3 separate regions of the Homo sapiens genome follow, and regions 2 and 3 are each linked to region 1. Evidence: promoter capture Hi-C in 16 types of primary human blood cells and fetal thymus (Javierre and others, 2016). All regions are on one chromosome and are shown on one strand. The core of a region is centred on a gene start or on the middle of the fragment in contact, and the rest is flanking DNA. Distances in the headings are between cores, read along the strand shown.

Region 1 (3,302 bases), core at 499-2,998:
AAAATTAGGTGTGGTGACATGCCTGTAGAAGTATTCACCCAAATACTTGGGAGGTTCAGGTGTGAGGACTGCTTGAGCCCAGAAGTTTAAGGTAGCAGGGAGCTATGGTCATACCACTACCTTCCAGCCTGAGTGACAGAGTGAGATCCCATCTCTTGGAAAAAAAAGGTGAATGATTCTGGATTACAAGGATGTCCAGTGTGTGGTCATTAGAGTATATTGCTAAAGAGAAATATTAGACAACATTTACATTTCCTGTTTTATTTATATATATATATATATATATATATATATAAACTTAGCAAGACATATGTATATAAACAAATACATAATGTGGCAAATATTAGCTTTGCAACTTAATTAATTTTTAAATATATATCCACACATGAACCACAACCCACACACAGATATGTGGCATGTATTTCCAACAATGAGAATCCTTTTTTTTTTTTTTTGAAACGGTGTCTCACCCTGTCTCCCAGGCTGGAGTGCAGTGGCGCAATCTCGGCTCACTGCAACCTCCATCTCCCGGGTTCAAGTGATTCTCCTTTCTTAGCCTCCCGGAGCTAGGACTATAGGCGCCTGCCACCATGCCCGGCTAATTTTTGTATTTTTAGTAGAGACGGGGTTTCACCTTGTTGGTCAGGCTGGTCTCGAACTCCTGACCTCAGGTGATCCACCTGCCTCGGCCTCCCAAAGTGCTGGGATTACAGGCATGAGCCACTGCACCTGGCCGAGAATAGATTTTTTAAAGACCCAAGAAAAGGGGCAGCCCAGCAAGACAGAAAATTTCACCAGTAACTGCTCTACTTTAACCAAACACCACAGAAAAGTGTTCACCCACTCCCTGTACCCACATACCAGCAAAGACTGAGTAGGAAGCTTAAACTTCACCCATACCATACAAGATGCCAGAACCCTGCCTGTTTCCCCACCCCAACCAGAGCAGTATCAGAAAAGGCCTTGTGGGAGCTGGAACTTCCATAACAACCAGGCCATAAAGATGCACCCCATGCCTCAGTTGGAGACCATGTAGGGAGCCTGGACTTCTGCTCCAACCCAGCCAAACAAGTTGCCTCCTGCCTTCTTCATCAGGGTAGTATCAGAGGAGGCCAAATGAAGAGTTGGGAATTTTACCACCATTCACTTATAAACGTGTGGGTCGGGAGAAAGAGATGAAACACAGAGAACAAAACATTAAATACAATTTTAAATAACTTTAAGATATTTTATGAGAGTAGGAATGTGAAAAGTTGGCTCTATAGTAATAACTAAGTAATTTCAATTAAAATATTTTTTACATATTATGTTTAGAAAAAACAAATGAGTATATCATTATTCCTGAAAATTTCCTCACATATAACCCAGAGTGAAAGTTCACCTTGTCATCTTGATTTCATTCTCTTACATGCCCACAATATCCATTCACTTTTTCCCTAACCCAGCAACCTGCGTCCTCATATCTCTACCACACTATCTTATCCAGGAAACTTCCTTTTACTAGAATTCTGGGAAAGCAGTGTCCAACAGCTCTTTGTCAGAAATCCACTGTCCCAAAGTCTTAAATTAACACAATGGCGCAATTTCTGTAGGTTCATTTTCACCCCTTATTTGTTTATTTTTAAAAAATAAAACAAAGCCTTAAGCCGTCAAATGCCTGAGATATACAGGAGCAATGACGTTGCATTTCATCAGCCAATCAAGTAAGAGATGATGGGCCTGAAGCTAACCGGTGCAGACTAGGGGCGAGTTTGGAGCAAGTAACTGTCAGTGAGGTTGCAGTTGGTCTGGGCTGTTTGGCTGTGAGCGAAATAGCTGCCCCCCACTTCTCACTTGCACACCACGGGATACTCCTCCTGAGGCTCCGGATGGTGAGCTCTCCAGTCTCTAGTTTCCTTTTCTGGAAGTTGACCTTTCCTACTGGTACTTTCTCTCTCAGTCTCGCCTCCTAGATGAACAAAGGCTCCCACTGTTTTCCTGCTAGAGATTCAGCCACTCCCTCTTGGCGCTTCTGCCTTTCTTGTGGCAGACCATGGAACACTTTCCCAAAGATCAGCTAGCTTCTCGGTTTGAACTTCTACCCCTTAGCTGCTTCCCCTCCTCCATTATGCTTTTTACATCAACTCTTTGTGAACTATCCAGTGGCATGTGTTCCCTTTGCGTTACTGAAACTGAAAAGTCCAGCCCTAGGGGAAAGCTCACTGGTTCAGGGAATCGCCTCAGGTGTGTGGAGCTGATCTTGAGCTGGAGGAAGGGCTCATTCTGAGTGGAGGGGCATTAGGAGGGCAATAGCCCACCCACCTTCAGAGTCAGTAAGATGTCTGCGTTGTGTGGTAGGAGAGTTTACTAAGGAGACAATCCAGCCTCTGGTATCAATATAAAATAAACCATTAAGCATGAGCTTTGTAGCTGTGAAGATTACTGAGATCCCACAGTGCCCTCTTCAGGATGCTTTCTTCACCTAATTCTTGCAAAACGTTCCAATCTGAAGGAAGAAGACTGTTTCCATGTTCAGTAACATGGTAAATTAGTGTGACTTACGGTTCATGAGACAAAATTTCTCAATGCTGGCTGACTGACAAGGACAAATTCATGTCATTTTTGAGAGGGCAGTCATTAATTTCCTCCACACACAAAGAGAATTGAGATATTAGCTAACATGAGAGATATATATATATATATATATTTGAAATAGAGTCTCACTCTGTCACCCAAGCTGGAGTGCAGTGGCACAATCTAGGCTCACTGCAATCTCTGCCTCTTCAATTGATTCTCCTGTCTCAGCCTCCCAAGTAGTTGGGATTACAGGCATGTGCCACCACACCTGGCTAATTTTTTTTTTTTTTTTTTTGTATTTTTAGTAGAGACAGTTTCACTATTTTGGCCAGGCTAGTCTCGAACTCCTGATCTCAAGTGATCCACCCGCCTAGGCCTCCCAAAGTGCTGGGATTACAGGCGTGAGCCACTGTGCTCAGTCAACTAACTTATTGTTAAATTAATGCAGAGGACCTATGTGATAAACCAATATTTTTTTCTTTAATGGGATTTGGACTCACAGACTTTTACAAAGCTGTCAAAAGTCAGCTTAAGATGAAGAGTTCTAATTATATTGAAAACCTGTGGCCGGGCGTGGTGGCTCACGCCTGTAATCCCAGCACTTTGGGAGGCCGAGGCGGGCAGATCACAAGGTCAGGAGATCGAGACCATCCTGGCTAACACAGTGAAACCCCGTCTCTACTAAAAATACAAAAAATTAGCCGGGCGTGGTGGCTGGCGCCTGTAGTCCCAGCTACTCGGGAGGC
Region 2 (3,302 bases), core at 574-3,073, 290 kb before region 1:
TCAGATAAAAAGCATAAGCAGTTTATACTTCATATTATGTTTGTACGTATTTAAATAACAGTAAAGTAGAAAAAAGTCCATGCTGACATTTATGACATTTGTTTTTCCGTTAAAAGGAAGTTTAAGAAACTCTGCTCTAGGTTTTAGAGAAAAAAATATCACACTTCATTGAGCTTGACTTCCTCTGCCTCTTCTCCCCACAGGAAAGGTAGATGTTCATGGGAAAAATCAGAATATAGGTAAAGGAAAAAGGAGCCAAGGAGGATATGGCCTATTTAATCGAGCCTATTGGGTCTATAAAGAAAAGCAAAAAGATTCTCTGCAGATCTACCCAGTCTAGTCCAGCTTACAAGTGACAAGGCTTCCACATGGGACTTCAGAAGCAAAAAAAGCCTTAGAGTTATAGAGTAATTTGTCAAGTTATCCCCTCTGTATGTGGATCTTGAAAACCCACGGCAGCAAGATGCAGCTGGACAAGGATTTGAGATCTTGAGTCTAAGCCATCTTTCTCTCTATAACCAACAGCCATATTGATGCTTTCCCTCAGGATTAGGCATATTCCTGGACAGTTCAGTCCTAGGACCAATGACAGAGTTAGACCAGGTCATTCACTGCAGGCCACACTTGTGGCACAACCAAAGCCTATGCAGAAACTATCAAGGGAACAGATTCAGTGCATTATGTGTAGGTCATAACTGTGCAGAAGAGAATCTAAAAATAGAAAGGGACTTTAGAAATCAGTCCAACTTCTACACTCATGAAGGAATCTCTTCTAAAACATCCTGATGACACAATCTCTTCCTAAAAACTTCAGTGATAATTTACTACTATTCTCTATTACTCTTCAGGAAGGTTCTTTTAACTGTTGAAAAGTAACCTATTTTGGCAAAGTCCTCATTATAATAAAATAATAATCACTACCATATAAATCTTACTGTAGTTTGATTCTCCAGAGCAGAAAAATGTCTACTTCCTTTTTCACATGACAATTGCTCCTCTCCAGGTTATACTATCCTCATTTCAGGGGCATGTAGGATATGGTTTCCAGACTTCTGACCTTCTTAAACCAGTGGTGCCCATAAGACCTCCAGTGGATACATATCAGAACTTCGCATCTTAAAAAAAAAAACAACTTTTATTTCAGATTGAAGGGGTACATGTACAGGTTTGTTACATTGCGTATATATGGTACATTGCATAATGGTGAAGTTTGGGCTTCTAGTGGACCCATCACTCAAACAGTGAACATTGTACCCAATACATATTTTGTCAACCCTCATGTCCTTCCCATCTGATATGATTAGGCTTTCTGTCCCCGCCCAAATCTCATCTTGAATTGTAATCCCCATAATCCCCAGGTGTTGAGGAAGGAACCAGGTGGGGGTAATTGAATCATGGGGGCAGTTTCCCCCATGCTGTTCTCATGATAGTAAGTTCTCATGAGATCTGATGGTTTTATAAGCATCTGCCATTTCCCCTGTTGGCACTCTCTCTCCTGCTGCCTTGTGAAGAAGGTGCTTGCTTCTGTTTCGCCTTCAGCCATGCTTGTGAGTTTCCTGAGGCCTCCTCCCCAGCCATGCAGAACTGCGAGTCATTTAAACCCCTTTTCTTTATAGATTACCCAGTCTCGGGTATTTCTTTGTAGCAGCATGAGAATGGACTAATACACCACCCTTCTCACTTTGGAATCCTGTGTCCACATGTACCCACTGTTTAGCTCCCACTTATAAGTGAGAACATGTGGTATTTGATTTTCTGTTTCTGAATTATTTCAGTTAGGATAATGGCTTCCAGCTGCATCCATGTGGCTTTAAAGCACATGGTTTCATTATTTTTTATGGCTGCAAAGTATTCCATGGTGTATATGTACCACATTTTCTTATTCCAGGCACCACTGATGGACACTTAGGTTGAGTCCATGATTTTGTTACTGTGAATACTGCTGTGATAAACATACCACTGCAAGTGTCTTTTTGATAAAACGATTTATTTTCCTTTGGGTAGGTACCCAGTAGAGGGATTGCTGGGTTGAATAGAACATTTTTAGTTCCAGCACATGATCTTGTGCTCTCACTCTTTCTCTTCCTCTCTCATTAAGTGGCAAGTTAACATAAGTAAACTTAACTTTGTGCAAAAAATGCTTTCCAAAGAGGAAGGTGAGGAAAAAAAGTAATCGTAAATAAGAAAATCAATCTCCATGCACTACTGAAATCTGCTATTTAATGTATTCTGTATGTGATACCTTTGTAAGAATATTTTTGTAATTTTTATGTTTTATGAGATAAAAATGTTTTGTATGCCACATTTCCTAGAAAGGTCCTGCTGTACCTCATTTCCCTTACCTTTAAAATAAATCGCCATAATAGATATAATCTTCGTATTTCACATAACTGATGAAAATGCCTTTGTTATTGTTAGAAGTAAAGATCTACTTAAAGAGAAAGTTTTAAAAGTTGTGTAGGTTTTTGTCTCACTCTATTTTTTAAGATTAAAAGTACTCTACATCCCACCCTAAATGACAGAGTGGCAACACAAGACATAGGTTTAATAATTATTTTAATTACAAATTTCCACCAATTCTTGCCAGTCATATTATTGTGGATATCACAAATGAATTATATAATAGTATATTACCTTATATTCATCTGCATGAAACTTAGGAGAAAGGAGAGCAGAAATGTGTAAGTTTCTGAGAATGACACCATAAAGCTCATATTTACAGTATGGTAGTCTGTAAACATACAGGCCTGCCAGTTAAAGCCCACTCTTCTATCATCACCCAGCTGCATGACCCTGAGCAAGTCACTTTTGTTTGCTAATTTTTAATATCATCTATCACCTGACTTCTCTATCTACGAGAGTTAACTGGCTGCATGCAAAATACCATGAAAAATACCATGCACTTTTAAGTGTGAAGTAGCACTGTAAAGTGACTTATATATTACTGGTCTTTCTATTTTTAGAGTATTAATATTCATACATCAGTTAAAAGTCAACATGTGTTTGCTAAGTGATCCTTTTGAAAGGATCCCTTTAAAAGTTCCTAGGCATCAGCTTCACTGACAATCTGGTATGATTCTGAAGCCAGCATTTCAACTCTTGGAAAGATATACAATAGTCACAGCTTGAATTAGTAACTAATAAAATAAAATGCCCTCTTATTCTCCAAAATGTAATAATTCAGGAGTAATGACATCAAGATTTTTCTCCTCAAACTGAGGAGAAAAAAGCCCCACCGTGGCTTGTTTAAATGACTTAAAATACAAGTGGTAACTATGGTGACTAGGGAACCAATGTTTAAA
Region 3 (3,302 bases), core at 507-3,006, 260 kb before region 1:
AATTTTTTTTTCTTGAGACGGAGTCTCCCTCTGTCACCAGGCTGGAGCACAGTGGCGCGATCTTGGCTCACTGCAGCCTCTGCCTCCTGGGTTCAAGCAATTCTCCTGCCTCAGCCTCCCAAGTAGCTGGGAATACAGGTGAGCGCCACCACGCCCAGCTAAGTTTTGTACTTTTAGTAGAGATGGGGTTTCACCATGTTGGCCAGAATGGTCTCGACCTCTTGACCTCGTGATCCGCCTGCCTCGGGATTACAGGCTTGAGCCACTGCGCCCGGCTCCTTGTGAGTTTTAAGAATGGTTTCTGTGCTGGGCGTGGTGGCTCACGCCTGTAATCCCAACACTTTAGGAGGCAGAGGCAGGCGGAATACAGGCTAACAGGGCGAAACCCCGTCTCTACTAAAAATATAAAAAATTAGCGGGGCGTGATGGTGGGCGCCTGTAGTCCAGCCTGGGCGACAGAACGAGACTCCGTCTGAAAAAAAAAAATGGTTTGCATAACTAATCTTTTCTCTAAAATTGTCTTTTGTTTTTGGTGAAGACACATGGTAGTATGGAAATAACCTAGGAGACCTGCCTTCTAGACCTATTTCTGTAATTTCTTTTTTTTTTTTAATTGATCATTCTTGGGTGTTTCTCGCAGAGGGGGATTTGGCAGGGTCACAGGACAATAGTGGAGGGAAGGTCAGCAGATAAGTGAACAAAGGTCTCTGGTTTTCCTAGGCAGAGGACCCTGTGGCCTTCCGCAGTGTTTGTGTCCCTGGGTACTTGAGGTTAGGGAGTGGTGATGACTCTTAACGAGCATGCTGCCTTCAAGCATCTGTTTAACAAAGCACATCTTGCACCACCCTTAATCCATTCAACCCTGAGTGGACACAGCACATGTTTCAGAGAGCACAGGGTTGGGGGTAAGGTCACAGATCAACAGGATCCCAAGGCAGAAGAATTTTTCTTAGTACAGAACAAAATGAAAAGTCTACAATGTCTACCTCTTTCTACACAGACATGGCAACCATCCGATTTCTCAATCTTTTCCCCACCTTTCCCCCCTTTCTATTCCACAAAACCGCCATTGTCATCATGGCCCGTTCTCAATGAGCTGTTGAGTACACCTCCCAGACGGGGTGGTGGCCGGGCAGAGGGGCTCCTCACTTCCCAGTAGGGGCGGCCGGGCAGAGGTGCCCCTCACCTCCCGGACGGGGCGGCTGGCCGGGCGGGGGGCTGACCCCCCCACCTCCCTCCCGGATGGGGCGGCTGGCCGGGCAGAGGGGCTCCTCTCTTCCCAGTAGGGGCGGCCGGGCAGAGGGGCTCCTCACTTCCCAGTAGGGGCGGCCAGGCAGAGGCGCCCCTCACCTCCCGGACGGGACGGTAATTTCTCCTAATGAGGAAATCAGTTAAACTATCCCTGCCGAGGCTTCATGTTTCCTCATCTATAAAATAACGGTTGTGGGCTAGACATTCTGTAAAGATCCTATTCTGCCTTAGGTTTTATTACCTCAAATGCCAAATAAAACTAAGTTTTGATTTTAAGGATATCATTAACATTCTTGCCAAACAGAGGTGTAATTTGAACATGGCTCTTTATCTGAAATCAAGAGCGGAGATGAAAGTATGCTGTTCTTATTGCACTCTTTGGTTTTATTTCCTCTGTGAAGATGACTAATTGTTGAATATATAGTTGCAGTTAGAGATGCAAAGTCTGTGGTCATTGGATAGAATTAAGCAGTTTCAAAACAGGAATTCATCCTAGAATAAATAACTGTTACACTTAATTACAACATCAATCAATTTATGAATTTTCCTCTCTAAAAAAATCCAAGGCCAAATTAGCCCAGCTGGCTGTCTATTACATAATGCAGGGTTGGGATAGAGCACAATTACAGGATTGAGTTAGAGTAGAATGAGCCTGGAGGAGGAAATGGGAAGGCATCATTTGCTTTGTGTAAATATTATATACTGAGTTGATTTGTTCATTTGTTTCATCTTGCTGTTTCTGAGTTTCTGCCAGACATCAGCTATCTTTTTGTTTTCATTCAGAGGTGTGGCAGTATTGTGCTTAAAAAGAGGGGCAGCTAGTATCTGATACTGTATTGTCAAAAAACAAAGAAAAAACTAATGTTGGATGTATGTATGACTTGTTTAAGTAGAATACTATTAATTGAGGTTAGCTTGAGGAATGGAATTGCTCACCAAGGTGTAAATATTGATTCTTGTTGGAGTTGGTCAGTATTATATACTGATAATAAAGATAATAAGAGAACATTTTTAGTCTCTAAGAGAAAGCTATTGCAAGCAATATTGATCATTTAGAAATTTGAATCTTGCATCATTTGAACACGTGAAGCAAGTTATGATGGCCATTGCTAATGAGGGCAGATGTACACATGTATTATCAGTGTGAGTCTGTGTTTTTTTTGTTTTGTTTTTTGTTTTTCGTTTTTCTTGCCTCCTAGTGTTCTTGTTTTTAAATAGAAGATACTATAGGGACTATGAGATAAAATGTTAGTCTTGTTACCTCAAGGCAATACAATGAAAGAATTTTTTATTTTTAATTATTTTGCTTTCATTTAGTTAAATTATTACTTTTAATGGTAATAAATTAGTTCCTGATAACCACAGAGCTAAATGTAGCATCTGGTTGCAATGAGCTCGAAGTGCTCAAAATTTGGGGAAGAGACTATTGTTTTTATTTTGGTTTTTGTCTTTACTTAGGCTGTTTAAATAATAAGGTTATTCGAAGTAAAAGAACAGAAACATAAAGTTTCTATCAGGAATCCAGTTGCTATATCTTGTTAATGTTTCATCTTAAAAGAGGTTATTCTTAGAATTCTTATTTGATAGAATTATATGCTCAAATTAAACTAGAGTATTTTATATAGGCATACTTTCTCAAAGGTATTAGAGATTAAATATTTTGTAATTTTTTGCTGTGTAGTAAACCCATGAACAATACAAGATTTTAAGCTAGAGCTGTTGCAAAATAGAAGTAATTTGGCAAGTATGTGGGTGTCACATGCGTCCATGTGTAGAGACCACCAAACAGGCTTTGTGTGAGCAACAAGGCTGTTTATTTCACCTGGGTGCAGGCGGGCTGAGTCCGAAAAGAGCAAAGGATGGTGAGATTATCATTAGTTCTTATAGATTTTGGGATAGGCAGTGGAGTTAGGAGCAATGTTTTGTGGGCAGGGGGTGGATGGCACAAAATACATTCTCAAGGATGGGGAGAATTACAAAGAACCTTCTTAAGGATGGGGGAGATTACAAAGTACCTTGATCAGTTAGGGTGGGGCAGAAACAAATCACAA

Evidence for each region. The method cuts DNA at HindIII sites, captures the fragments that hold promoters and counts their contacts. A CHiCAGO score of 5 or more calls a contact.
Region 2: a fragment that was not itself captured here is called in contact with the fragment with the promoter of SLC9C1 in region 1 in 1 of 17 cell types (activated CD4 T cells); the score reaches 5.0 in activated CD4 T cells.
Region 3: a contact is called between a fragment that was not itself captured here and the fragment with the promoter of SLC9C1 in region 1, in 1 of 17 cell types (erythroblasts). The highest score is 5.8, in erythroblasts.

What each region holds. Positions count from the first base shown.
Region 1 is chr3:112,292,662-112,295,963 of GRCh38, reverse strand. It overlaps SLC9C1 (solute carrier family 9 member C1), which reads left to right and starts at 1,748. Exons shown (of 29, transcript NM_183061.3): 1 at 1,748-1,871. The HindIII fragment of the contact is 3,564 bases long and covers 885-3,302 here.
Region 2 is chr3:112,583,394-112,586,695 of GRCh38, reverse strand. SLC35A5 (solute carrier family 35 member A5) reads right to left here. Exons shown (of 7, transcript NM_017945.5): 7 at 1,117-3,302. Among named protein-coding and RNA genes, the nearest start is that of SLC35A5, 23 kb to the right of the region's middle. The HindIII fragment of the contact is 3,705 bases long and covers 1-3,302 here.
Region 3 is chr3:112,554,329-112,557,630 of GRCh38, reverse strand. The region is part of intron 2 of ATG3 (autophagy related 3); the gene reads left to right. Among named protein-coding and RNA genes, the nearest start is that of ATG3, 6.0 kb to the left of the region's middle. The HindIII fragment of the contact is 3,918 bases long and covers 1-3,302 here.